Linked DNA regions of Homo sapiens: regions 1, 3, 4, 5, 6 and 7 are each linked to region 2. The links are contacts of gene promoters, found by promoter capture Hi-C in blood cells and fetal thymus (Javierre and others, 2016). All regions are on one chromosome and are shown on one strand. Each heading gives the region's core, a stretch centred on a gene start or on the middle of the fragment in contact. The rest is flanking DNA. Distances are from core to core; before and after follow the strand shown.

Region 1 (3,870 bases), core at 714-3,213, 660 kb before region 2:
GGGAATTAACATTAAGAACAACAGCAACAAAAAATTTATTCCCAATTGATAGCTTTTAGTTTTAAAATCCTAGCATTTAGTATCATGCAAGAGATGGTAACTAAGATATATAATTTTACTTACGGGCTAATTTCTCTCTTATACAGACTTTCAGATTAATTTTCTAACAGTCTTAAATAGTGACCTATTAAAGTGCATCCCTTGGCCAGGTACAGTGGCTCACGCCTGTAATCCCAGCACTTTGGGAGGCCAAGGCAGGAGGATTACTGGAACGCAGTAGTTCATGACCAGCCTGGGCAACATGGCATACCCCGTCTCTACTAAAAATAGCCAGGTGTGGTAGCACATGCCTGTCGTCCCAGCTACTCAGAAGGCTGAGGTGGGAGAATCCATTAAGCCCGAGAGTTGGAGGCTGTAGTGAGCCGTGATTGTGCCACTGCACTCCTGCTTGGATAACAGAAGAGACTCTGTCTCAAAAAATAAAAATAACAATATAAATTAATTAATTAATTTAAAAATGCATCCCTTGACAAGTTTCAAATGTATTTAAGAAGCATCAGAACACGTTGATCCTCTGGCCACCAGATGGCACTGTGGTTCAGCTAACAGAACCTCAGCCCACTTCACAGCCCTCTGTGGATTAACTGTACTTAAGTGTAATTACAACCTGTTCTCTAGGTTGAAACGCCACAGCAGTAATGGGCTTAATTCCTGTCACTAAAGAGTGGGAGTAGCACTAAATACTGCTTTCAACCCTCTGAGGTTCTTCCAAGCACACAAAATTGTGCCAGTAATTATCTCATGTTTAAGTAATGACTTTACAGAATCTCTAATGTGTAAAGCAAAATTTAGAAGTGAGGGCTTTTAATAGAGAATAAATAAGAAGTTTTGATTTTTAAATAAGTAGTTTGATCCTTAAGTCTTCAAATGAAATTTAATGTATAGATAACTGGGAACTTATAGCTTGCAACCATTGATTTTTTTTTTTTAATTTCAGTTGGACTGTTGGTTTCTGTATGTCAGAATATTCATATGTAAGGATTTGGGAACAGGCTAATGTTGAGACTTTTATCATGAAATTATTTTCTTTTCAGTAAAAGATGCTGTAGTACTTAGGCTGGAAAGAAAGTGGAGGTAATACATTCTGGTAGCTATAGTTGAGATAGAGCTTACAGAGTTCTCGATAATGGCCCTCAACCAGCCTTCTTTCTCTATGATCACTATAGCCTAAGCTTGTGATGTGCTCAGCTGAAATAAAACAAGCCTAGAACTTTGCAGTATTGCACAGGAGATTATATTTATTACACCGGTATGACTGTCAGGGAGCCAAAAAGTACCCATTTACTCTAGTTGCAGCCTTAGAACCATTGATTCTGTTTCATGGGAGCTTCAGGACCAAATCAAAATGGAATTGACATTTATTGCCTTTTTCTTACAGTATTTATTTTCAAAAAGCACAGTTTTCTTTAAGAATAGGCACTCTCTCTTTGCAATTCCTTTGGAAACCGTGCAACATATGCTTCTCTCTCAGGCCAGTTAAGGTTTTGGAACCCAGATGACTTGAATGCTTCACAGAGTGGATCTTCCCCTCCCCAAGACTGGATAGAAGAGAAACTGCAAGAAGTTTGTGAAGATTTGGGGATCACCCGTGATGGTCACCTGAACCGGAAGAAGCTGGTCTCCATCTGTGAGCAGTATGGTTTACAGAATGTGGATGGAGAGGTAAGCCTCGCAGTATAATTCAGGAATGATAATGATGGTAAAAGTGTAGTTGACCACATGCTAGGAACAGCTGTAGTGTGGCTCTCTGCAGCTTGTTAGGCTCCATTTTCTTTTTTCCTAAGAAGTCATTCATGAAGATTCTGTCACTGAGGAGCTCTTGTTGTGTTGTGAAAAAGAAAAACTGACAAGAGCTGACACTTACCCAGCTATTGTAAGCTCACTGTGCTAGGCAGGTTACCCCATGTGAAACTGTCAGGCACTAGCTCTCTGTAGCCATGATGTCAGATGTATTTGTAGAGGTGCCATTCACAGAGTAAATTGTGGGAAACATGTGGAGGCAGAATTAAGCAAGGATTTCAGTAGATTTGAGTTGGGGGAGTATTTTGAAGACCAGAAGGATAAATTTAAGTTTTTGGAAAGAACATCTCAATATCATCTCTGAGTTCTTAAGCAGATTGAGCAATATATAGAAAAATCTTGCTTGCTGACGAGGAGCTAAACTGCTTTTACATATTAGCATGAAGAGAGCCTTGGGTGAGAGCAGCCAGCAGCCATTACAATATTCTGGTCATGAGAAAATGGTAAAGGGTAGTTTGGTTGTTTTGAAAATACTAAGAAGAGTTTTGAAGGAGCCCCCAAAAGACTCTTCTTTGGTAAAACTCTGAGCTTTATGTTTTCTAAAAAATTAAGGGAGGAACTGGTAGGACTGGGTGCATGAATAGCTGTGAAACATAAGAATAGAAATAATTCTAAGATGTGCCTTTCAACGAGCTGAAAATAAGGATTGGAGAGAGTTAGGGTAGGGCTACAGTTGTCGCTTTGGGAATCTTTGATTATAATGATATTTGAAACCATGCTTTCTGCTTGCTCGGGGGATAAGTGGTATTATTTTTCTAAACAGATAATAGAAATATTTGTTTAGTGGTATTTTTCTAAACAAATAATAGCTTTTGATTTATTTTCAAAAGCTTTCAAGTAGCCTAGCTTACAGAAAATTTTTTTTGTTGTTTTCCCCTTCTTTCCTGTATTTTTGACCATTATATACCCTTTGTTTACCTTTGTAATGGCTCAGTGGTAATTTATTTTTCATTGGTGACTATTAAGTCATAAAATTAAATTTATTCTCCTGAATTGTAAATCAGTGCAATATGTAGAACCTTGGGTTGTTTTTGCCAAAAAATATTGCACAAACTTGGATTATTTATCTAAAACCAATTCTTGGAATAAACTGTAGCTACTTGTGGAGAGCTGCATGTTCTTCTGTGGTGGTTTCCAAAGCTCAGGAAAAGAAGTAGCACATTTAGTTATTTTCCTCTGGCCTGAGGACAAGTAGAGGATTGCTCATAGAATATAACTTTTACTTAGTGTTTTTCCTGCTAAAGAAAAATAGTGAAATTCTATAGTACTTAGTATTACTAGCTCTAAACCACAGAGGAGCTGGAAGTTCAAGATGATCTCATTTACTTGGAATCCTAAAATTTTACAACTGAACGCCATTTTAGATTTAGTCACCTCTCATTTTATAGGTAGAGAGAGTGAAATCGTGGCTGTTCCCTGCTTTCATGAAGGGGAACTAGAGTCACTGTCTTATGCCTGTAACTAGCACACTCCTTTCCGAAAGCAAGAACAATGACAGGGCAGAGATGCAAACCAGCATGCCCGATGCCGAATCTGGCCCCAAGCCTATTTTACTTGTCATGCCCAGTGTTTTTAAAATTGAACTTTTTGCTACATTGAAAAAAAAAATCAGGAGATTTTTCTAAAACTCCAAAGATTTGGCTCCATTTTATGGGCAGTAAGATGCAGCCAGCCCCTTTGGAGAGGACATGCACTCCTGTGTTCAGTTTCCCAGCACTCGCTACTTTCTGATGTCTTAAACCCATCTTGCCTCATTCGTTGACATCATCTTCCGGGCCTCTTTGAGTGTTTGGGTTTGTGATTATTTTCCAACTTACACTTCAGCAAACCAGCTATCCAAAGACCTGGTCCATGTAAGAATAAGAATGTCCTCACAGTTCCAGAGACAGCTCCTGCTCAAAGTGTAGAGCGTGCCCCAGTTGGCCATTTAACCGGCATTGTTTTCTGCCTAGCCCCGGCCCCGTCTTCTGAATCCACACTCTTCTATTCATCACTTGCCCACTCCACCAT
Region 2 (4,064 bases), core at 1,164-3,663:
GATAATTAACCCAGATTAGTTTATTTTGAGCCTCTGAATTTAACTTGACAAGTAAGAATTTTTCAGACTTAAAAATTTTTTTTTTTAATTTTTCAGAATAGAGGTATAATTTAATTACTTTTTTTTTTGAGGGAAATATGAAATCTGATGATGATCCTCCTGCTATTCCACCGAGACAGCCTCCTCCTCCAAAGGTAAAACCCAGAGTTCCTGTTCCTACTGGTGCATTTGATGGGCCTCTGCATAGTCCACCTCCGCCACCACCAAGAGATCCTCTTCCTGATACCCCTCCACCAGTTCCCCTTCGGCCTCCAGAACACTTTATAAACTGTCCATTTAATCTTCAGCCACCTCCACTGGGGCATCTTCACAGAGATTCAGACTGGCTCAGAGACATTAGTACGTGTCCAAATTCGCCAAGCACTCCTCCTAGCACACCCTCTCCAAGGGTACCGCGTCGATGCTATGTGCTCAGTTCTAGTCAGAATAATCTTGCTCATCCTCCAGCTCCCCCTGTTCCACCAAGGCAGAATTCAAGCCCTCATCTGCCAAAACTGCCACCAAAGACTTACAAACGGGAGCTTTCGCACCCCCCATTGTACAGACTGCCTTTGCTAGAAAATGCAGAAACTCCCCAATGACCTTAGCCATATGTAGTCATTGACACTGGAATGGTATTTGTAAAGTTTTTTTTTTAATTTATTCAAAAAAAGACATAGTATTTTAGTACTTTTTACAAATAATGCTCTTACAAAAATGCTACTGATCAAATAAGCTTTTAAGAATTGGAAAAATAAAAATACAAAAGTCCTTCACCATTATCCTCAGGTGATCAGTAGCATTGCCTTGTCTTGGATCCTCAGTGCTGCCAAAAGGCCAGTATAAAGAATTTATATTTGCACTGTAAACTCTGCAAAAATATGGTTTAAAGTGACATGATTGCACTGAAAAGGGATAGTGCTTTTGTGAAATTTTTCAAATTTGAGTAATAGATGCCTTTTTAAGGCAGTGAATTTACACAAATATGGGAGGGGTATATGGTGTTACTGATTTTTAAACCTCTTTGACCATCTTCTAGTTTTTACTTCTAGTTTTTACATCTAGGAGAATTGTGAATAACACCAACTGTTCTTAAACTCTTTAATGCCATGTCTTAAATGCCGGTATTTGCTGCTGAAGACAAAAATGAAAAGTAGGATGAAAATAATAGAATGGCACTGTAAGTGTTTATTATTTTGTCAAAATGTAAACAAAGACTACATAACCCAATGATGGAGGGAAAAAGGGCATGTATCTCATTCAGATGTGCCTTTTGTTTTTGCAGACTATGACGTCTTTAGCTAATGAATTGCCTATTGTTATGGAAAACAGTTAATATGCCATGTATGTACAGTTTTGTTTATATTGTATATTTAAAGATACTGCTAATAACCTATATAAATTTAAGTGACTTGAGGCCTATAATACAATCTGCTACTTTACTAATTCATAAATTCAAAAAAAATTCTATGGCATAGGAACCAACTGCCTTGCCTTCAAGACCTAGTAACTTTCTCTATAAATCTCGTGTTAACTGAAATTTTTTTTAAATATATTTTTTAGATTGGTAATATTTAAACCAGCAAATACTTAAAGCTTTATTAAACATTTTAATCAGATAAGTGAGTAAAGCTTTTATTTGCCATTTGGATGCCTTCGTTCAAAGTGATAGAGTGTTTTGCTGATAGTGCTGTAGCAGCAGTTGTAAAGTAGCCAAAAGCCACGTTGTTTATTTACTGGTTTGTGGCCTTTTACTGTGCTTTGTATCAGAGTTCTTAACAAGATTAATAAATCACCCCAGTCTTAATTTTTAAAAGACTTTTAAAATATGTGTTTTCATTATAAGGAACAAAGGGGGAGATTGTTGAGTCCTATAGACACACACACACACACACACAATTTTTTCTTCACTGTTAAATGTGAGCTGCAGGCTTCTAGCAACCACTTTTATGAATTCATACAAAAAACTAGGAGCATACTAGGAACTTGAAAAGGAAGATTGTAAGATTATAGCCATCTTTGGTAGGATCTTGGAAGCTGATTGCATTTAAGCCTTGTAACTACTATGTAAATCAAGTGTCCAACTTGGTAAACTCTGAGGTTGGCTTTGTTTTTTAAAGAGCAGATTATAATAGTTTTGTCTGGGAAAGTGATTTAAACGGCCTCTTCGTTAAGCCAAACGTGTGATTTAGGGTAGAGGGAGGCTGCCAAGCGCGTCGGGTAAGCAGGGGCCCCACGCTCGGCCCCGCCCAGGTAACGCTGCCTTCCGGGCTTTGTTAACTCGCGCGCGCTGCGTCGCCAACTCAGCGGCGGGCAGGGGGCGGAGCCGCAGGGCGGGGCGGTGCGCGTTGATGTGACGTCCCTGCGCGCGCCGCTTTCTGTTGCCGGGCGCAATGGCGGATACGCTGGAGTCCTCGCTGGAGGACCCACTGCGGAGCTTTGTGCGAGTTTTGGAGAAGCGGGATGGTACAGTGCTACGACTACAGCAGTATAGCTCCGGTGGCGTGGGTTGCGTTGTGTGGGACGCTGCCATTGTCCTTTCTAAATACCTGGAAACGCCCGAGTTTTCTGGCGACGGGGCCCACGCGCTGAGCCGGCGGTCGGTGCTGGAGCTGGGTTCGGGCACCGGGGCCGTGGGGCTCATGGCTGCTACCCTCGGGTAAGAGCTGGCGGGCGGGCGGGATGTGGGGGCGCCTTCTTGCTGGGGAAATCCGGATTACAGGCTTTCCCCCCTGTGCCTACACCTCAGTCGACGTTATTTTATAGGGCTGATGTTGTAGTCACCGATCTTGAGGAATTGCAAGACTTGCTGAAGATGAATATTAATATGAACAAGCATCTTGTCACTGGTTCTGTTCAAGCCAAGGTACTGAAATGGTTTGTATGGCCTTTCAGCTTGTTTTAAGATATTGATTTGTAGTTTGTTTTGAATTGCGTTTCATTAAAAGGATGGAAGGGGACTTTCCGGTTCTTTATAAAACAAGAGTATTTTGAATTATTAAAACAATTGAAATATTTGTTTGGCATTTTTAAGGGGGGAAGAAATAGAAGGCTTTCCTTCTCCACCCGACTTCATACTGATGGCCGACTGCATATACTATGAAGAGGTAAGTATCCAGTGAGCGAAGTCTCTTCACTTAGAAGATGAACCTTATTCCATGAATTCTAAAGCACACGTTTCTTCACATTTTAACATCTTTGAATCCGGGATTTGCCTTATAGTTGATGCAGTAAAGAGAAGATAAAAGTCACCAGGGACCATATGTATATACGCTCATCATTATCATACCGACCTGGTGAAGCATGTTGAGAAAAGTGTTATATGCATTTTACTAGAGGCTTCTGTAAAAATTTTAAAGGATTTTGCCAATTGGATGTTATGAAAAGCCAAAATCCTCTCTTTTTCCCTTGGTTGTTCCCACGGAACATGTTAACCATGACATTGAGAATTAAGTTATAAATAATTCATTGTTCTTTTCTTTAAATACCAGTTTGGGCCGGGCGCGGTGGCTCACGCCTGTAATCCCAACACTTGGGAGGTCAAGGCAGGTGGCTCACCTGAGGTCGGGAGTTCGAGACCAGCCTGACCTACATGGCAAAACCCTGTCTCTACTAAAAATACAAAATTAGCCAGGCGTGGTGGTGCATGTCTGTAATCCTAGCTATTTGGGAGTCTGAGGCAGGAGAATCGCTTGAACCTGGGAGGCGGAGGTTGCAGTGAGCCGAAATCATGCCATTGCATTCCAGCCTGGGCAACAAGAGCAAAACTCTGTCTCAAAAAAAAAAAAAAAAAAAAAAAACATCAGTTTGTATAGTGTTGTGGGCATCGATTATTTTAAAAATAATTAGCATTGAACCAAGTTAGGGTCAGATTTAACTTTTGTAGGGAAATCGTTGATTATTTAAATCCCAAATTAGATTAAATAAAATTAAACTTTTAAGAGTAAGGTTGATTCCATTTGTTTCCCATGAGAACTCCAAAATGCAGTCATCTGAATCCTTTTTCTGGAAACCAAAATCAGTAC
Region 3 (4,165 bases), core at 87-2,586, 710 kb before region 2:
TACCGAAGCGGCCCCTGACAGAAGGACACTAGGTGATGGGAACAGTCACTGCTTCCAGCTCTCGCTGCGAAGTTAAAAGAGATAGAGACGGAAAGAGGCAATTTCCCTAACCCCAGCCCTGACAACCCGAGGTGAAGGCACCAACAAAATGGGAGCTGGAAAGACTGCCCTACCATATATCATGTTTCCAGACAACTTGGATATTATGAGATCTGCTTTCTGCTCCTAACTAGGACAGATCCTCTCCTGGTGTTGAGGACTTCTAAGATGGGCTTGCCATACAGCTCAACTCCTGAATTTATTACATCGAAACAGATTGCGTAGTTGTCTTTTGTGACTGACATGGTAGCTTTGTAGGATGAGAATCCTGATAAAGTCCATCCTGACACATGAGGGAAGCCCCTGGAACCACGACGTTTCTCAGTTAGGTCCCCGTAAACACCATAACATACACACATGTTTGCATGATTCCGGAGGCTTGATGATCTAACAAGGAAAATTCCTTTTTTCTGTCAGTTTAATTTTACCTTGAGTCTTCTCTCGTGGTGAGCATATTATATAGGTGGCTGACCTGGAATATTGGTGGCTCTTGCTCCGGAGTTGAAGGGAGCTGAGGATTTCCAGAGTGTGTATAGGAGGAACATTACAGGCTGGCTGAAAAACGAGTTTGTGTGTTGTGGTCTCTTCAGCTATTGTCAGTGTCCTTTGGGAGGTGATGTGAACTGCCCGGGAATTTGTTTGCAGATTTGTTTATTTTCCCTGTTCTCTGGTGATTCTTTAGAGGGAAGCATTCTGCAGAGTGGGGAAAAGGTAGGATGAATGTTCCACAGGGTTGGACATCGGCAAAGTTATTACCAATACAGGGAAAGGCTTCACAGGGGGCAATAGAGAGGAAGCCATCATACAGTCTGCATTAAAATGTCAAGGATCAGTCATTTTAATAGGCACTTGCTCAGAATGGCGTGGGGTTCTTTTTTCTTATTTCTTTTTCATTTTAGATGTGTAATGACCCTTAATATCAAAAGATGTTAACTGTCACAGAGGGGGAGAATAGGGCTCCAGTGAATTCTGAACAGCCAATCTTAATGTAATAGGCAGTATTCTTATCATGAGTCAAATGTTCAAATAAATTGTTTTAAATGTCACTGCAAATGACTTTCTAAACTAACATTTCAACTATCTTGATGCTTCCATTTTATGTTGATAATGAAAATGCATTTTATCAGTCTTACATTGATAAAGGGTGGGCAAGCTTAGCCAGAGCATTTTAGAAGGATTTAAACAGCGTGAAGCCTTTTTAGAAGGCTTATTTTTATAGATGCCAATTCATTTGTAAGCCAATAAATTATCTGGTTTGAATTCTAGCTATTGAACTTGCATCTGTTGGGCAGGGGCTTATGGAGAGACTTAGTGAAGCTTGCAAAAAGATTTTTATCCTATTTATGAATAAAATAGAATTTTGAAAAGATTATGAGATTCTGAAAGTGAGCATCCTTGTTTGAAATTAGGACACTTCTTTATTGCAATTTAAGTCAGCAATTAACCATTTATTCAAGCTTTTGGATGGAAAAATTACAAAGCATCTATCTATACCCTAATTCTCACTTTAAAAACAAAGTTGGGAAAATATTGTTCATAGACGTGAGAAGAGAAGATCACCTTCACTTACACCTCAGGGTACCATACTCATAGCCTCAGGCATCCTAAATTAATGTGAGTCAATATGGCTTAAGAAGTGGAAGTTGTTATAAGCTTTCTCCTTTTTTTTTTTTTTTGTAACAAACATGCAGCTCTGTTTTCTGCTTCTGTAATTTACTTAGTAGTTGATTACAGGTTACTGAATGCACATTGTGCCAGGCTAATGGCGTTTTTTTGTTGTTGTGTTTTTTGTTTTTTGTTTTTTTTTTCCTGTAGCTAACCTGAGTTAACTACTTGATTGGGTAATCTACCAGTTATTAGGTTGAACAAAAGCATGGGTTTATTACATCCTTCAGGATAGTAAAATAATAAAGGTTGCTTACATTTTCGAATAAACGCTGATAGGATTCCCTTAGTTAAATATTATAGTGTAGTTGACAAAGGTTGTTATTTTTCTTTTTCTTTCTTTTTTTTTTTTTTTTTGATACGGAGTCTCTCGCTCTCTCCTGGGCTGGAGTGCAATGGCATGATCTCGGCACACTGCAACCTCTGCCTCCCAGGTTCAAGCAACACTTCTGCCTCAGCCTCCCGAGTAGCTGGGATTACAGGTGTGCGCCACCACACCTAGCTATTTTTTTTTTTTTTTTTGTATTTTTAGTAGAGACAGGGTTTCAACGTGTTAGCCAGGATGGCCCCGATCTCCTGACCTTGTGATCCACCTGCCTCAGCCTCCCAAAGTGCTATGATTACAGGCATGAGCCCCCGCTCCCAGCCATTTTTTCAAATGTATTTAATGTGACTTTCTTCCTGTGCATTTAAGCTTTCGTGTTATATTTTTGTATCATGATTTCATTCACAGTGATATTGTTGTGCTTTTGGTATCCAGCTAGAAGTGAGACACTGAGCAGAGAGGAGGCATTCTGACAGTAATCAGTTTGCTGCTAAGCAGCACTGGTTTTTGGCGGAAGTATTCTCCTATATAAACTCGTAAATGGCTGCAACTGCTTTTTCTATTGAGCTTTTACTAAACTTGAATTTATCCTTGTCACTCTTTCCTTTTATACTGAAAGTAGTCCAATATGGTGAGCCTGAAAATCTGTGCAGCCAATTAAAGTATTTGCAGAAAAGAAAGAAGAAAAAGAGCACTTTAATTTGATCATTGGCGTTATTAGGCTCCGACTTGCCAAATGGTGAAAGCTAAAGGCATAAATGGAGAGCTTTGCCCAAGTGGGGTTTGTCGGTGTTCATCACGTCAGCTGTAGAGTAAGTAAATGAGTCACTGGTGGTCACTGCCTAGTCTGTGGACCCCCAACAGCTATGTCTGCACACAGGTCCAAAAGCATCTATTATGATGCCCTCTCAAGGAAAGCAGCTGAGCCGAGAGGGGCATGCAGACATTCCGCAGAGCTCTTCAGCTGCTGAACCATCTGGATGCGAAATAAAAGGCCTGGGCTAGGGGCTCTAGCATTGTGCATATTTATTACTTGGTTTTCACTTGCCAGACTTTGTCCCCTTTTCACTCGCCAGACTTTGTCCCTTTTTCACTCCCTCTGGCCCAGAACAGACGTCCCCTTTAGCTGGGGTGTCATTGTTACAAGCTCCTTTCTGTACCTTGGTTGAACACTGAAAAGTTCATAAATCCACATGTCCACTCATGATTCTAGCCACACCTCCACCTATTTAGTTTGCAGTCCTATTTGGCACTGTGATTTCATCAGCTGGGGTAATGAACACCACTGTCAGAGTCGGCAGCATTTTGGCAGCCTTATTTTGAGTTATTTGGAAGGAAAATGCTCAGAATAATTGTCATTATGGGTGGTTATTGAGTGGTAAATGTTTTGATTAATGGTTCTGTGCATCTGCTTCTTATTTAACCATCCCCAGTTAGAACTCCAAAATATTGCCCATACTGGTTCTTTCATTCCGAAAGAGTCATAAAGCCTTCTGACAATTTGACTGGAAAGGTAGATGGTGAGGAGAGGCCCAGGTTTATTATGGCAGGCTTCGTAACACTGGAGCTCTTCTTTGCAATTTGAAGTAGAATTTCTCGCTCAAAATGTAACTTTCTTAATCTCTGAGTAAGACTCCTGCCTCTGGTGGGTACCAGTTAGGATCTGACCCTGAAAAGCACTGGATTGCACAGATTATACATACTTAAGTGTTTATTCAGGGGAAGTCATTTACGAATTACCAATTCCTGGGCAATGCCCATTATTGAAGACATGGGACACTTCATGATCATTTTTATATAAGAATTTCTTTCTTTCATGCCCTAAATCCCAAAGCTGCTTTAGAAAAAAAAGGGAATGTGTATTCTATCTGTATATCCCTGGTGCCTTGTAGGCTATAATTATTCAATAAATGGATCAAGGGAGGTAGGAAGGAAGGAACTCTGCTTCTCAATTCCAATTTGGAAAAGTTTGTGGCCATGGAGTGTTGTGTGGGGATTTCTACTGCTTAGTACTGTTCAACTGGCTAACACATAAAGGTGGAGATAAGTGGTTTGCCAATGGCATCATTTCAGAGG
Region 4 (4,379 bases), core at 191-2,690, 680 kb before region 2:
ACATGGCGGGGAGGTGTTTAGTCAAAGAGGGTCGCCAGTCCTCCCTGGGAAACTGTAAAGTAATGGCTAAACCCCAGCATGGTTTCAATGGTGATAAAGGAACGGTCGTTCTTTTAGTTCTTATCTAATCAACTATTGTCGTTTTTATAATACGTGTACATAATCTCATTTAAAAGTCTACATGTCTGAGTTCAGACATACCTTGCTAAGACTCATGTTCAAACAGAATACATATCTGTTCTCGAGAGAGTATGAATATGTGGACAGCAAGACAACAGAAATCAAAGCATTGTCATCTTTTGTACTTTAATGAAACATTTTATTCTGATGCTGTACAAGGTGCTAAAAAATCTATAGCTGAGATAACATTTGAATAGAGTGAAGTATTTATTTTATTGCTTTAAAGCTCCAATTGTAGAAAAAGCTTAGCCTGTAGTTGTGGCGGTGGAGGTGGTGGTGGTGGTGGTGATGGCAGTGGTGATGGCAGCAGTGGTGGTGATGGTAACGGGGAAGGTGGTCAGTGTTGAACCTGAGACAAGTGATGTCAAAATGCTGAAGTCCTTCTTTAAGATCAAGAGATGACTCTCACCTCATGCACATTCCTTTTTATTTTGTACAACACCGATGCTTACAAAGAGATAAAATAATACAATTTTTTTTACTGTGGTTTCACATTTGCTATTTTATTTTACTGTTTTTAATTTTACAATGAGATCTTGATGCCGGGTTTCATATACGTAACTAGCTGTCATTAATTGCTTAGAATGTGTTGTGTCCGTTTCTTTGTTTTGTCATCTGCTTGTCTGATAGATCAGAGAGTGGAATGGTTAACAGAGGAATCACTGAGGTAGGGGAGGGTGTTTCAGACTAATTGATGTGGATACTGAGTATACAGTGCTGATTTGGTGTCTGTTGTATTACCATTTTCTAAGACTTCCTCCAAGGTGTCTCTTTGTTAATATGATGTCTCCCCATCCTGCTGGAAAACCCAGCTTAATAAACAGAACAAATGTGACCCCTCACCTTTTCCTGACCTTAATCCTCTGCAATTAAGTCAGATCCCTTGCTGCCATTGTTGGATTGCTCCCGTCATGTGCAGATATATACTCACGGTCCCATAAATCGTTCAGAATTAGAAGGCGTGCTCTGCATCTGACCTGATGGCTCATATACACCCACAGCCACCACAATTGGCAAACAGTGGTGGTTTATTTTGAGGTTGGTATAAGAGGCTGTGTCCGATGGCTGTGAGTGGCAGCTAAGAACTGAGATTCTCATGTCATGTGGCCTCAACTCTTGTCTCCTCTCTCAGACTGCTCACTAGAAGCTCAGCCCAAATATGTTAGAGGTGGGAAGCGTTACGGACGAAGGTCCTTGCCCGAGTTCCAAGAGTCCGTGGAGGAGTTTCCTGAAGTGACGGTGATTGAGCCACTGGATGAAGAAGCGCGGCCTTCACACATCCCAGCCGGTGACTGCAGTGAGGTAAGGAATCGGGCATGCACGTTCATCTGGATCATGAGTGTGGAGCCCCACGTCAGTGCAGCACAGAGACAGGGGAGCTGAGGGGGTTGATGGCACGATGTGGGCTTTTCTCAGTTACCAACTCCTTGCTAATCTTATTACTTGCCTTTTGGACATATATAATGTTTCTATCTTTTGAATGTTTTTACCTCGTTTCAGCTTTTGGAGAGCTGACATTTCTGTGCATGCGTCATGTACACATTTAGAGTTCAGGTATTTCCACATCATCTGAGGTCTCCCACTTCTAGTTCTTGAATATCTCTCTCCTCTATAGCATGATCATTTTTAGTTATTTAAAAGGCGAACCAGCTCCTCCCCCTCCCTTGCCCCAAACTATAAAACAGCATCTGTAGCAGGAAATGAAAGCAACGCGTTCAGGCATTTTGAAAGCCTGCATCTTATCTTTTGTAGTGTGATAAAGCAGCTCGAACACTTGGTTTTTGCCTCAAGATACTGAGCCTGGGGTGCTTTCCAGTGCCCAGCAGTTGCCATGGTTCTTTCTGCTGGATTCCTTGCACCCAGGCCTGTCTCGTTCTCCAGCATGTGGAGAGTCGCCAGCCTCCCTCATCCCCCATCTTTTCATTTTGCATATTGCCATAATCTACCAATAAAGGAGGTTCAGTAACATTTTCTTTATTCTTTCTTTATGGCTCATTTACCAGCATCCCATTTATAGAACATGATTGAAAATGCCATGCTGAGCAAGCTGTAAATATTTCTTGCAAATCCCAGCTCAGACTGGGGCTACAGATATTTCAGATACTAATATAAATTGGAAAAGAAACAAAGCGCCTCAACTTTCTGAAAGTGGTCTGTAGATTGCCAGTGGACTCTGTGTGTGTGTGTGTGTGTGTGTGTGTGTGTGCGCGTGCACCTGTGTGTTCATTGTGGTCTAACATCCATGTTCAGCTTACTGAAATCTACAGGAAGCTTGCTCCCAATAATGGCCCCAGCAATCAGACATCCAGTGTCCTCCTCAACTTTCCAGAATACCCCAAAATCCAAAAATAACAAAAAAGAGCCCAAGTGTTGAGCCCAAGTGTTGGCAATAAATACGGAAATTTATAAGGACACATGACCAGTCTGCTGATCGGGGTCTGCATCATTTTTTTTTAAAAAAACAAATGACACTTGTCCTTCACCACAAGTGAAGCAGCAGTGGCAGAAATGTTATTGAGAAGAGAGGGAGAAAAGCAACTAAAAGAGAGAAGAGAGAAAAAAAAAACCCACAAAAGTGGTATAAGAGTAGTGTGGATGAGAAGTGACAGCTGAAAATAGAAAAAGCCAAAAGCAGAAAAAGCTGAGAACAGTTTCAGGAGTCCTTCTCCTTTCTTGGGTCTCTTTGCGAATTGAGATAGGGGTCTTTCCCCAGTAAAACACATATACTCATATGCACAAAAATTTTACATATACAATCTCAGGGATGCAAGTAATTTACATACTTCAGTTAGTACAGTGTTCGTAATAGTTTTCTTATTGTCAGGAAGGGTATCATAAAGTCTGTTCTATAACCCTGAGTGGTGTGGAATGTACTTCTTTATGAAAAAAATGGTTAAATGTCTCAGTACTTGAGCAGGTAAGTTTTTGTTATTTGGAAAACACTTTTAAGTTTAATAACTCATTTCCCCAACTATTTCAGTCCCCAGGGTATTATTTGGTACTAAGAAAGTAAATGCTTACTTTTTTTTTGACATGAGTTTCTAGTCCTCATCTAGGAATACGCAGAAAGCTGTTGGGCAGAGCTGACTTTGTTGCTGGCAACATGTTTCTTATATCCTTGTTATATGTTATCTACTGGTGCCCAGGGAGATTTACTATTTTTAAAGTGAGACTTTGATTTCATGTATAAATAAAGATAAGAGTTGAGGCCTGAGCCTGGGCAAAATCTTGTGGCTTATGTCTCAGTAAAATGGTATTTTGGGAGTATCATTTCACCCTTGATGTACTTACAACTTCCCTTAACTCCTCCAGAAACCTCTTAGATATGACCTCTTGATGCTATACACAGAAGCTGTAGCATTCACCACCCTCCATCAGCAGAACTGCAAATAGAGGCCCGGAGAGGGTCATTTCTCTGGATTTCTGTTCTCAGCGAGGACTCCAACTGACTCAACTTCGCTATTCTGTTATATCCCACACCAGAGCAATGCCTGTAGGAATACAAGATAACACCTTTGTACCACACCTTTTTTAATTACCAAAAGTGGACTCACACCAAAGCTCATCCAACTGCTTTCTTGCCTAAAAAGAAAGTGTTTTGTAAGCTGAATTGTGCCTGTCAGTTTTCAAATCACTTCATCTCTTTAAAAAATTAAGTTTCAGTGCTGGGCATGGTGGCTCATGCCTCCCAGCACTTTGGGAGGCCAAGGCAGGAGGATCACTTGAGCCCAGGAGTTCAAGACCAGCCCGGGCAACATAATGAGACCTTGTTTCTACGAAACTCAAAAAAATTAACTGAGCATGGTGGTGCATGCCCTTTGGTCCCAGCTACTGGGGAGGCTGAGGTGGAAGGATTGCTTGAACCCAAGAGACAGAGGTTGCAGTGAGCCGAGATCGTGCCACTGCACTCCAGCCTGGGTGACAGAGCAAGACCTTGTCTCCAAAAAAAAAGTAATAGCTTCACACAAGACATTTTCGATGTTCCTGTTGGCGGTTAAAAAAGGCAAAGCCCAGCTTTGCACAGCAGCTGTGGTTATGGGTCACACTCACTGCCTTCACACCTGTGTATGCAGGAATCTTGTGGTACAGCCTTGTCAATGCATCAGTCTTGTTACTTACTGTTATGGCAAGACAGCATTCCTGTTTCTGGTCAGTTTCCATATTAGGCTTAGCAGTTGAGGGCCATTCTGTTGGCCTAT
Region 5 (3,838 bases), core at 1,007-3,506, 530 kb before region 2:
CTTTCAGGCACAGGGATTCAAATTTATGTTAAAATTTTGTCTGGGGTGCAACTGTTACAAATAATGAGGATTAATAATAGTATGAACCACATACTGTCTTCCTAGGACTGTGTTAGAACATGCACCAGCAATGATAATACATCTGTATTTGCTGCCTAGTGGCTAACAGATTTACTCTCTTGATTATAAAAAACACCTTCGTTTCAGAACTAGTAAAATATGGGAGTGAAAGAGGCAAAATAAGTCCAAAAATCAAGGAAAATATTTATGCAGTTTCTGTCTCATTGATGTGTGTATCTCCTCCACTAATACTACACTGTCTTTATTACTGCAGCTTATTTATTTAACACTTACTATGTGCTTTATTCTGTAGACACTGTTCTAGAGACTGGAGATGTATCTGTGAACAAAACAAAGATTCCTGTCCTAAGAATCTTCTTTGTGGGATTCTTGTAGGTAAATAAACAAACTAAAATTACATAAGTTAAAAGGTTAAAGTGCTTTTTAAAAAAGTAAAACGGTAAGTAGAAGCTCAGCAGATGTAGACTGCCATAGTAAGAATAAGCTTCATTGAAACATTTGAGAAGAGGCTTGAAGAGGGTGAGAGTGAGCCAAGAGAATATCTGAAGGAAGAATCTTCTAGGGAGAATAAACAGCCAGTACCTGCCGTGTTTGAGAACAGCATCCAGGAGGTGAGTGTAGCTGGAACAGAGTGAGCTAAGGGTAAAAAAAATAGCAGCTTAAGTCAGAGAAGAAATGGAGGTCTGATCATCAGTAGGGCTTCATATTGAAAGTTATACAAGAGATAACTTTCATCAAGTAATGAGACAGTAAAGATAACTTGTACCAAATATCAAGGAAAAAACTTACTGAGCTCAGCCAGTATCACCAACCTGTGGTGAACCAAATAAATACTTCTTGTTTTAAGCCACTGAGTTTCGGGGTGATTTGTTATACATATGCTATTAGTATTCTTTTTTTTTTTGAGACGGAGTCTTGCTCCGTCGCCCAGGCTGGAGTGCAGTGGCGCAATCTCGGCTCACTGCAACCTCCGCCTCCCGGGTTCACGCCATTCTCCTGTCTCAGCCTCCCAAGTAGCTGGGACTACAGGCGCCCGCCACCACGCCCAGCTAATTTTTGTATTTTTAGTAGAGATGGGGTTTCACCGTGTTAGCCAGGATGGTCTCGATCTCCTGACCTCATGATCTGCCCGCCTCGGCCTCCCAAAGTGCTGGGATTACAGGCATGAGCCACCGCACCCGGCCAACTATTAGTATTCTTGTGTGAGAATAAAATTATGCAGCCAGATTATTCTTTTAAAAAGTATAGTAAATTTAACTTTTTTCAAGTTACACAGTTCTGAGTATTAACATATGTATAGATTTCATGTAATGCCTGTGTAATGAGAATACAGAACATTTCAAACACCCTCTAAAATTCCCTTAGGTTGTCCTCTTATAGTCAACTCCTGTCCCTCACCTCCAGTTCCTAGCAATCACTGTTTTCTGTCCTAGTAGTTTTGTGTTTGGAAGAATCTCATAAAAATGGAACTGTACAATTTGTAGCCACTTGAGACTGGCTGCTTTCCCTCAGCATGATACTTCTGAGATTCATCTTTGAGATTCTTGCATGTACCAATAATTAGTTCCATTTTATTCCTGAGTAGATTTCACTGTACAGTTGCACCACAGTTTGTTTATCCATTCTGTTAAAGGACATGTGTGTCATTTCCACTTTGGGGCAAATATGAATACAGTCATTGTAAATATCCACAAATGGGATTTTGTGTGAAGATGACTTCTCATTTCTCTAGGGTAAATATTTGGGAATGGGATTGCTGTAGCATATGAAAAGCATATGTTTAACTTTATAAGAAATTGCTAAGCTGTTCTCCAGAGTGACTGTAGCATTTTGCATCCACACCAGCAGTGTATGGGCATTCCAATTGTTCTGTATCCATGTAAGCACTTGCATTGTCAGGTTTTGTTTGGTTTTTTGGCCATTTTCATAGACGTGTATTGTCATTTCATTATGGTTTTAATTTGCATTTCTCTCACGGCTAATTATGATCCTGAGCATTTTTTCACGTGCTATTTACCATCAATATGTTGTCTTCGGTGAAGTGCCTGTTAAAAATTCTTACCCCCCTTTTTTTTAACTGGGTCGTTTTGTTTTCTTCTTCTGTTTTTGTTTTGAGAGAAGGGGTTTCACTCTGTTGCACAGACCGGAGTGCCGTAGCTGTTCACAGGCATGATGATAGTGTGCTACAGACCTGAAATCTTGGGCTCAAGTAACCCTCCTACTCAGCTTCCTGAGTAGGTTGAACTACAGGTGCGTGTCACTGCAGCAGGCTCAGGGTTGTTTTCTTAATGTTGAGTTTTGAGAATTCTTTGTATATTCTAGGTCAGAGTTCTTTGGCTAATAATGTGATTTGCAAACATTTTCTCCCTGTTTACAGCTTGATTTTCTTTCTCTTAGTGTCCTTCACAAGCGTTTTTAATCTTGACAGAGTTCAATTTAATCAGTATTTTTTCTTTATGAGTTGAACTTTCAGCATCATGGTAAAAAAAAGTACTCTTTGTCTAAACTAAACTCATGAAAATTTATTCTATTTTTTTCTTGTAAAAGCGTTATAGTTTTAAATTTAGATATATGATCTATTTTTAGTTAATTTGTATGTAAGGTGGCAGGTATAGGTTGTGATTAGGTTTTTTGCATATGGATGTCCAGTTGTTGCAACATCATTTGTTGGAAAAACCTTTCCCCGCTATTGCCCTTTCACCTTTATAAAAAAATCAGTTGACCATGTCTGTGTGGGTGTTCTTCTGGATTCTCTGTTTGGTTCCATTTATCTATTTGTCTGTTCTTCTGACAATACCATACTGTCTTGATTAATGTAGCTTTATAGTAAGCCTTAAAAATCAGGTAGTGTGAGTCCTTCAACTTTATCCCTTTTTCAAAAAAATTGTTTTGGCTACTCTAGTTCTCTTTTGCCTTTCAGTATACATTTTAAAATCTGTTTAATAACTATCTGTATCTACAAAAACTCCATGGAATTTTTTTTTTTTTTTTTTTTTGAGACAGAGTTTCACTCTCGTCGCCCAGGATGGAGTGTAATGGCGCGTTCTCAGCTCACTGCAACCTCTGCTCTCGGGTTCAAGCAATTCTCCTGCCTCAGCCTCCCGAGTAGCTGGGATTACAGGCGTCCGCCACCACGCCCGGCTAATTTTTGTGTTTTTAATAGAGACGGGGTTTCACCATGTTGGTCAGGCTGGTCTCAAACTCCGGACCTCAGGTGATCCGCTCACCTTGGCCTCCCAAAGTGCTCGGATTACAGGCGTGAGCCACTGCGCTCGGCCGGAATTTTTATTGGAATGACAGTAGTCTCGCTTTATCCATGGTTTTGCTTTCCACAGTTTCAGTTACCTCTGCAACTGCAGTCTGAAAATTGATGAATATGGTACAAGATCTTTCAAGAGAGAGGGAGAGAGATTACATTCACCCAGTTTTTATTATAATAATTGTTCAATTTTATTTTTGTTAATCCCTTACTGTGCCTAATTTATAAGTTAAACTTCATCATAGATACGTATGTATAGGAAAATACACAGCATACACAGGGTTAGGTACTATCTGCAGTTTCAGGCATCTACGGGAGGTCTTGGAATGGATCCCCCATGGATAAGGGGGGGACTCCTATAAAGATAAAGATAATTTCAGGAGAATTGACATCTTAACTTTATGTCGAATCTTCCAATCCGTTAATGTGATAGGTTTTTTATTTCTTTCATCAGTGTTTTGTAGTTTTTAGCATATTGGTCCTGCACAATTCTTTGGA
Region 6 (4,246 bases), core at 422-2,921, 640 kb before region 2:
GTCTTTGGTTTAAAAATCCATAAACAAATACATCCGGGAGTGTGCCAGAGAAATTAGTTTCTAAGATTTCCCCCTAACTCCAGAGAGAGGTAAGTCTTTTAAATGAATTATGGCTGCCAGTCTTAGCTTTCAGAAATGAGATCCCTTTCCAGTATAAATGAATCACATAGGAGTAAGTTAAGAGCATTTTTAGGGAGTATTTCAGTTGTTTGCTCAGCAGCTTTCTCAGTGCATGGGAAAATGGTTTTTGTTTGCTTCTGGAGTTGGCGGCAGTTTCAATAATGCTGTATGTTGACTATATTTAGGGAAAAAATGGAAACAGAGTGTAATAGAAGAACCTCTCAAATAGAAGCCCAGTTTCAGTCTGATTGTCAGAAAGTCACTGAGAGGTGTGAAAGCGCTCTGCAAAGCCTGGAGGGGCGCTACCGCCAAGAGCTGAAGGACCTCCAGGAACAGCAGCGTGAGGAGAAATCCCAGTGGGAATTTGAGAAGGACGAGCTCACCCAGGAGTGTGCGGAAGCCCAGGAGCTGCTGAAAGAGACTCTTAAGAGAGAGAAAACAACTTCTCTGGTCCTGACCCAGGAGAGAGAGATGCTGGAGAAAACATACAAAGAACATTTGAACAGCATGGTCGTCGAGAGACAGCAGCTACTCCAAGACCTGGAAGACCTAAGAAATGTATCTGAAACCCAGCAAAGCCTGCTGTCTGACCAGATACTTGAGCTGAAGAGCAGTCACAAAAGGGAACTGAGGGAGCGTGAGGAGGTCCTGTGCCAGGCAGGGGCTTCGGAGCAGCTGGCCAGCCAGCGGCTGGAAAGACTAGAAATGGAACATGACCAGGAAAGGCAGGAAATGATGTCCAAGCTTCTAGCCATGGAGAACATTCACAAAGCGACCTGTGAGACAGCAGATCGAGAAAGAGCCGAGATGAGCACAGAAATCTCCAGACTTCAGAGTAAAATAAAGGAAATGCAGCAGGCAACATCTCCTCTCTCAATGCTTCAGAGTGGTTGCCAGGTGATAGGAGAGGAGGAGGTGGAAGGAGATGGAGCCCTGTCCCTGCTTCAGCAAGGGGAGCAGCTGTTGGAAGAAAATGGGGACGTCCTCTTAAGCCTGCAGAGAGCTCATGAACAGGCAGTGAAGGAAAATGTGAAAATGGCTACTGAAATTTCTAGATTGCAACAGAGGCTACAAAAGTTAGAGCCAGGGTTAGTAATGTCTTCTTGTTTGGATGAGCCAGCTACTGAGTTTTTTGGAAATACTGCGGAACAAACAGAGCAGTTTTTACAGCAAAACCGAACGAAGCAAGTAGAAGGTGTGACCAGGCGGCATGTCCTAAGTGACCTGGAAGATGATGAGGTCCGGGACCTGGGAAGTACAGGGACGAGCTCTGTTCAGAGACAGGAAGTCAAAATAGAGGAGTCTGAAGCTTCAGTAGAGGGTTTTTCTGAGCTTGAAAACAGTGAAGAGACCAGGACTGAATCCTGGGAGCTGAAGAATCAGATTAGTCAGCTTCAGGAACAGCTAATGATGTTATGTGCGGACTGTGATCGAGCTTCTGAAAAGAAACAGGACCTACTTTTTGATGTTTCTGTGCTAAAAAAGAAACTGAAGATGCTTGAGAGAATCCCTGAGGCTTCTCCCAAATATAAGCTGTTGTATGAAGATGTGAGCCGAGAAAATGACTGCCTTCAGGAAGAGCTGAGAATGATGGAGACACGCTACGATGAGGCACTAGAAAATAACAAAGAACTCACTGCAGAGGTTTTCAGGTTGCAGGATGAGCTGAAGAAAATGGAGGAAGTCACTGAAACATTCCTCAGCCTGGAAAAGAGTTACGATGAGGTCAAAATAGAAAATGAGGGGCTGAATGTTCTGGTTTTGAGACTTCAAGGCAAGATTGAGAAGCTTCAGGAAAGCGTGGTCCAGCGGTGTGACTGCTGCTTATGGGAAGCCAGTTTAGAGAACCTGGAAATCGAACCTGATGGAAATATACTCCAGCTCAATCAGACACTGGAAGAGTGTGTGCCCAGGGTTAGGAGTGTACATCATGTCATAGAGGAATGTAAGCAAGAAAACCAGTACCTTGAGGGGAACACACAGCTCTTGGAAAAAGTAAAAGCACATGAAATTGCCTGGTTACATGGAACAATTCAGACACATCAAGAAAGGCCAAGAGTACAGAATCAAGTTATACTGGAGGAAAACACTACTCTCCTAGGCTTTCAAGACAAACATTTTCAGCATCAGGCCACCATAGCAGAGTTAGAACTGGAGAAAACAAAGTTACAGGAGCTGACTAGGAAGTTGAAGGAGAGAGTCACTATTTTAGTTAAGCAAAAAGATGTACTTTCTCACGGAGAAAAGGAGGAAGAGCTGAAGGCAATGATGCATGACTTGCAGATCACGTGCAGTGAGATGCAGCAAAAAGTTGAACTTCTGAGGTAATGTATGTACCTTCTAGACGTCACGAATCCCACAGAGCACCTCACCAGATCTAACTTCCACTGCTTGCCGTGCCTAGAGAAACTAACCTAGTAGTCTTCACGAAGAGAGCAGTACTCTCTAGACTTCCTTCTGCTTCTGTGCCGTATTAACAAATAAAATAACCTTGTTTAGGAGGCATTCCCTTCCGCTGTAGCAAACAAGTGTTCATATGGGGTGTGAAAGTTCACAATGGCGAGTGTTTGCTGTTTAACCATGTGCATCCTCAATGTACCTCTTTAACTTTTTTCTAGCACTTATTTCATTTAGATGGATAGGGGATTTTTTTTTTTTATTTTGCTAAGTGTTACTTTCCTCATTTTGAGGAAACATGTTATATACAAATGAATGATTTTTTGTGTATTATTAACTTAGTAGATAAGAACTCACTTCTTATGCTAATATAGAAAAAATGTTCTGTCTTTATAGTTTTGTACTCATATCACTTGAAGCACATGCTGATAACCCATAAACAGTGCAAATGGTCAGGCACCATGGCTTAAATGCCTGCAATCTCAACTGTTTGGGAGGCCAAGGCAAGAGGATTTCTTGAGGCCAGGAGTTTCCAGGCAAGCCTAGGGAACATAGCAAGACTGCCTCTACAGAAAAATAAAAAAATGTTTGCTGGGCGTGGTGGTGCACACCTGTGGTCCCAGCTACTTGGGAGGCCGAGGTGGGAGGGTTGCTTGAGCTTGAGAGGTCAAAGCTGCAGTGAGCCATGATCATGCCATTGTACTCCAGACTGGGTGACAGAGTGAGACCCTGTCTCTTTTAAAAAAAAAAAAAAAAAAAAAAAAAAAAAAGAGACAAAACAAACAGTGGAAATTTATCTTAGAACATATAATTTGAGGAGCCTCCAGATTCTAATAAATATGCTTGAAAAGCAGAGATACAAGTAGAATTAATTTGAACCACTGCCCACTTGACATTGTAAAATATAATTGCATAGTCTTCTAGCAAATTTGGTTTTTCAAAAAAAAAAAAAACTTGTAAACTATTACAGGACGTCTGAAATGTCTCTGAAATAATTTAATTCTGAATGTAGTTTTTCCTCTTCTTCAGACCATTTTTAGTCCTAAAAATCAGAATATAATGAGATGAATAAAATCACAAAGTAAACAGTGTACATATTTCATTGTGGCCCTTTGATTTCAATAGAGAATTTTCTTTCCCTAGGTACCCAGGGGCCTAAAACTAAGCTAATATAGCTTTGTAACATGGCTTATGTGTATTCAGAACAGGTAGGACTTGAGACTGAGATAAATGAAGACATTTGCTCAAAGCAGTATGCTTGCCATTGAGAAAAATCAACAACCAGAATGAGCATTGAGTCTTGATTCATTTCTCCAGGCTTAAGGGTTTTTTAGCTACACTTCTCTAACATCTTTTAGTGAAATTCTTACTTCCCAAAAGAAATGTGTCAATATGTCATAACTCGATTTCCAAATACTAAGAGACTACTAATTTAGACTTTTCTTTTTAACTGGCATTGAATACTCATCCTTTTGGAAGTTACTAGAAAATATTTTCCAAAGATGCCAGATGACTGCCTTGTAACAATTTTTTTCAATCTCTGTGCTTCAGATATGAATCTGAAAAGCTTCAACAGGAAAATTCTATTTTGAGAAATGAAATTACTACTTTAAATGAAGAAGATAGCATTTCTAACCTGAAATTAGGGACATTAAATGGATCTCAGGAAGAAATGTGGTAAGACGTATACTTACATTTTCCTAAGACATTTTTGCAAAGACTAAAATTC
Region 7 (3,970 bases), core at 442-2,941, 540 kb after region 2:
TCAACCAGGTAGTATGTCTTGAAAACTGCTCTTACCACTAAACTGTAAATGTTCAACAAAAAGTGAAAGCTGGCTGGGCGGGGTGGCTCATGCCTGTAATCCCAGCACTTTAGGAGGCTGAGGCAGGTGGATCACAAGGCCAGGAGTTTGAGACCAGCCTGGTCAACATGGTGAAACCCTGTCTCTGTTAAAAATACAAAAATTAGTTGAGCATGGTGGTGTGCGCCTGTAATCCCAGCTACTTGGGGGGCTGAGGCACAAGAATCGCTTGAACCGGGGAAAGCGAGGTTGCAGTGAATCGAGATCATGCCACTGCATTCCAGCCTGGGAGACAGAGTGAGACCCTGTCTCAAAAAAAAAAAAAAAAAAAGTGAAAGCTTTGGTAAATATTGGTAGTCTACAAAATTGCCGAAAGAAATTTTTTTTATAAAAAGTGAAAAATTGTATATGTGCTACAATTTTATTATGTTAAAAAACAAGTACACAGGGAAAAAAATCAGAAGGAAACATGTCATTATGTTAGCAGCATTTGACTTTGGGTGATGTGATTTATGATTTGATTTGTAGCAGTATCTGATTAAGACTCATTTAGAGATTGAGTATCCAGATACTGCAGTGTATAATGTCCCTGGTACCAATATTGCTAGTGAGGCTTCTGCTCCTCCTAAAACAGCTCATTCTATTTTTAGATTGCTTTGATGGTAAGTTTTTTCTTAGGTTGCTATGATTTCATTCTACTGATTTTGACTGCTACTCATTGATATTAATTCTGTGTTGTCCTGTACAAAACAAGTCTAATCTCTGAAAAAAAAAAGGGCTAAATATTTAGGCATGAAGGCTCTCATGTTTTCCTAGAATCTTCTTATTTCCAGTATAACCATCTCTGATTATTTCAACTGTTTCTCTAAAACATGATTTAGAGTGATCTTTGGTGTTCTCTGAATTAATTCCACTCAATCTAGATCCTGATAGTGACATAACATGTTTCACAGGGCAGGCATGCAGTACAAATTTATTGAATTTGGTTGGGCATCATTGCTTTTTCACTTTTTATGGGTCCTCTTTTACCATTACAGAAAGACCTGAGCTGTCTTCCTTGGCACTGCCTATGGAGGTGACACCCATCTCCTCCATCATGGCCATCCTGAGACCGCTCGCGAAGCCCAAGATCATCAAAAAGAGCACCAAGTTCACTGGGAACCAGTCAGACTGATATGTCAAAATTAAGGGTAACTGGTGGAAACACAGAGGTATTAACAACAGGGTTCATAGAAGGTTTGAGGGCCAGATCTATGCCCAACATTGGTTATGGGAGAAACAAAAAGACAAAGCACATACTGCCCAGTGGCTTCTGGAAGTTCCTGGTCCACAACGTTAAGGAGCTGGAAGTACTGCTGGTGAGCAACAAATCTTACTGTGTTGAGATCACTCATGATGTTTCTTCCAAGAACTGCAAAGCCATCTTGGAAAGAGCAGCCCAGGTGGTCATCAGAGTCACCAATGCCAATGCCAGCCTGCACAGTGCAGAAAGTGAATAGACAGTGAATGTGTTTGTTTTATTGGGGTTTAAATAAAACCAATAAAACTGTAAAAACAAAAACAACAAAAACCAGAGACCCTGGCTTTTGGACAGTTGTTCGTGTGGCTAATGCCCCCAACAGTTTTATTTTTTAAAATTTTATTTATGTATTGTTTTTGAGATGAAGTCTTCCTCTGACTGGAGTGCAGTGATGCAAGCTCAGCTCTCTGCAACTTCCACCTCCCAGGTTCAAGTGATTCTTCTGTCTCAGCCTCCCAAGTGGCTGGGATTACAGGTGCCCACTACCACACCTGACTAATTTTTGTATTTTTGTAGAGATGGGGTTTCATCCTCTTGGCCAGGCTGGTTTCGAACTCCTGACCTCAAGGGATCCTCCCACCTCAGCTTCCCAAAGTGCTGGGATCACAGGCTTGTATTAGTTCATTTTCACACTGCTGATAAAGACATACCTAAGACTGGGAAGAAAAATAGGTTTATTGGACTCACAGTTCCATGTGGCTGGGGATGCCTCACAATTATGGTAGAAGGCAAAAGGCACTTCTTAGATGGCAGCGGCAAGCAGGAAATGAGGAAGACATGAAAGCAGATATCCCTTATAAAACCATCAGTTCTCGTGATACTTACTCACTACCATGAGAAAGTATGGGGGAAACCGCTCCCATGATTCAGTTATCTCCCACCGGGTCCCTCTCACAACATGTGGGGATTATGCGAGTACAATTCAAGATGAGATTTGGGTGGGGACACAGCCCACAAACCATAATCAAGGCATGAGCCACTGTGCCTGGCCTTCAACAGTTTTAAAGCAGCCTGCTTGCATAACCTCTGCTAGGACATCGTTCTTAAAAACTATCTTTAATGGTAATTGGTGTATTAGGGATTTGGGTTTTTAGGTAGGCAGAGAAAAAACACTTCTAGTGGTATGATTAAGAAGGGTATAATAAAGTGTTTTAATTTCCTCAATATTGACAAAAATTGAAAAAAAGAGGCCAGGCAAAGTGGCTCATGCCTGTAATCCTAGCCTTTTGGGAGGCTGAGGCAGGAGGATGGTTTGATGCCAGGAGTTCCAGACCAGCCTGGGCAACATCAGGAGATCCCCTATCTACCAAAATTAAACAAACAAAAAAACCCAAAAACAATTAGCCAGGCGTGGTGGTGCATGTCTGTAGTCCCAGTTTCTCAGGAGGCTGAGATGAGAGGATAACTTGAGCCCAAGAGGTCCAGGTTTCAATGAGTCATGTTTGTATCACTTAAAAAAAAAAAAAAGGCTGCACTATTAGCTGTTTCTCAGGAAGGTTAATGTAGAACATAAAAGGCTCAGTTTGTAGATAGACTGAGTATATGTGTGTGTAGGAATCAAGGCTATACAGGGTCCAAAAATTAGCCTAGATTATGTGTGCTAGTTCCAGGTATCTTCTATCTTTTAGAATTTTAAAAGAATAGAGGCAGAAAGTCACAAGCTTAATCTAGATGAGGTAATTATCATTTAATGTCTTGAACATAAAGTAATTTGCTAAATTAGAATTTATTTTAATTTTTTTGGACATGGCCTTGCTCTATCACCCAGACTGGCATTCAGTGGCACAAACATGGCTTATTGCAACCTCAACCTCCTGGGCTCAAGTAATCCTCCTACCTCAGACTCCAAGTAGCTAGGACCATAAGTGTGCACCACAATGCCCAGCTAATTTTTATAAAATTTTTCGTAGAGATGGAAGTCTCACCATGTTGCTCAGGCTGGTCTGGAACTCCTGGGCTCATGCAATCCTCCCTTCCTAGTCTCCCAAAGTGTTGGGATCACAGGGGTGAGCCACTGTGTTCAGCCAGAAAATAATTTAGAGAAGCCAGAACTGGCTTCCTTTGGTGAAAATTCTTTGAGCAGATTCCAGACTGGACCTTCTGACTGTTATAAATAAATGGTGGATTCCCATTATTTGTTTGTGGGACAGAAATATTGAAGGCCTGTAGAACCATAATGCCTTCCCCTTCCTTCTGTCACTCACCCACTTCATTTCTCCTATTAGGCCCCTTAGAAAGAGATCCCTGATGCCAGGCACAGTGGCTTACGCCTGTAATCCTAGCAGTTTGGGAGGCTGAGGCGGGTGGATCACCTGAGGTCAGGAGTTAAAGACCAGCCTGGCCAATGCAGTGAAACCCCATCTTTACTAAAAATACAAAAAAATTAGCCAGGCATGGTGGCGAGTGCCTGTAATCTCAGCTACTCAGGAGGCTGAGGCAGGAGAATGGCGTGAACCCGGGAGGCGGAGCTTGCAGTGAGCGGAGATCAGGCCGCTGCACTCCAGCCTGGGCGACAGAGCGAGACTCCGTCTCAAAAAAAAAGATAAAGAAAGAGATCCCTGACTGCCTGTATAGTTTGAGAACCACTGATCCTGGGGCAAGGACTCAAAGTCTCTGGCTCTAGAAGTGGCT

Evidence for each region. Contacts are between HindIII fragments. The CHiCAGO score rates a contact against its expected background, and 5 or more counts as called.
Region 1: a fragment that was not itself captured here is called in contact with the fragment with the promoter of VCPKMT in region 2 in 3 of 17 cell types (erythroblasts, fetal thymus and non-activated CD4 T cells); the score reaches 7.4 in erythroblasts.
Region 3: a contact is called between a fragment that was not itself captured here and the fragment with the promoter of VCPKMT in region 2, in 4 of 17 cell types (non-activated CD4 T cells, naive CD8 T cells, total CD4 T cells and 1 more). The highest score is 7.1, in non-activated CD4 T cells.
Region 4: a fragment that was not itself captured here is called in contact with the fragment with the promoter of VCPKMT in region 2 in 1 of 17 cell types (activated CD4 T cells); the score reaches 5.3 in activated CD4 T cells.
Region 5: a fragment that was not itself captured here is called in contact with the fragment with the promoter of VCPKMT in region 2 in 1 of 17 cell types (total B cells); the score reaches 5.8 in total B cells.
Region 6: a fragment that was not itself captured here is called in contact with the fragment with the promoter of VCPKMT in region 2 in 1 of 17 cell types (total B cells); the score reaches 9.1 in total B cells.
Region 7: a fragment that was not itself captured here is called in contact with the fragment with the promoter of VCPKMT in region 2 in 3 of 17 cell types (fetal thymus, non-activated CD4 T cells and total CD4 T cells); the score reaches 7.2 in fetal thymus.

Annotation. Positions count from the first base shown.
Region 1 is chr14:50,774,801-50,778,670 of GRCh38, reverse strand. NIN (ninein) reads left to right here. Exons shown (of 31, transcript NM_020921.4): 7 at 1,532-1,722. Among named protein-coding and RNA genes, the nearest start is that of NIN, 54 kb to the left of the region's middle. The HindIII fragment of the contact is 1,458 bases long and covers 1,235-2,692 here.
Region 2 is chr14:50,114,921-50,118,984 of GRCh38, reverse strand. It overlaps VCPKMT (valosin containing protein lysine methyltransferase), which reads left to right and starts at 2,413. Exons shown (of 6, transcript NM_024558.3): 1 at 2,413-2,698; 2 at 2,806-2,916; 3 at 3,074-3,146. The coding sequence starts at 2,433. It overlaps SOS2 (SOS Ras/Rho guanine nucleotide exchange factor 2), which reads left to right. Exons shown (of 23, transcript NM_006939.4): 23 at 132-1,855. The coding sequence ends at 641. RefSeq lists an enhancer at 2,417-2,476. The HindIII fragment of the contact is 15,614 bases long and covers 1,674-4,064 here.
Region 3 is chr14:50,825,713-50,829,877 of GRCh38, reverse strand. The region is part of intron 2 of NIN (ninein); the gene reads left to right. Among named protein-coding and RNA genes, the nearest start is that of NIN, 3.4 kb to the left of the region's middle. RefSeq lists an enhancer at 1-34. The HindIII fragment of the contact is 164 bases long and covers 1,255-1,418 here.
Region 4 is chr14:50,789,815-50,794,193 of GRCh38, reverse strand. It overlaps NIN (ninein), which reads left to right. Exons shown (of 31, transcript NM_020921.4): 5 at 1,313-1,482. Among named protein-coding and RNA genes, the nearest start is that of NIN, 39 kb to the left of the region's middle. RefSeq lists enhancers at 2,069-2,118, 3,485-3,624, 4,065-4,174 and a silencer at 2,861-2,920. The HindIII fragment of the contact is 2,027 bases long and covers 427-2,453 here.
Region 5 is chr14:50,645,925-50,649,762 of GRCh38, reverse strand. The region is part of intron 2 of SAV1 (salvador family WW domain containing protein 1); the gene reads left to right. Among named protein-coding and RNA genes, the nearest start is that of SAV1, 20 kb to the left of the region's middle. The HindIII fragment of the contact is 3,377 bases long and covers 568-3,838 here.
Region 6 is chr14:50,754,690-50,758,935 of GRCh38, reverse strand. NIN (ninein) reads left to right here. Exons shown (of 31, transcript NM_020921.4): 18 at 306-2,444; 19 at 4,069-4,194. Among named protein-coding and RNA genes, the nearest start is that of NIN, 74 kb to the left of the region's middle. The HindIII fragment of the contact is 479 bases long and covers 1,432-1,910 here.
Region 7 is chr14:49,574,960-49,578,929 of GRCh38, reverse strand. It overlaps a transcript of RPS29 not described here and the pseudogene RPL32P29. Among named protein-coding and RNA genes, the nearest start is that of RPS29, 9.4 kb to the left of the region's middle. The HindIII fragment of the contact is 2,623 bases long and covers 380-3,002 here.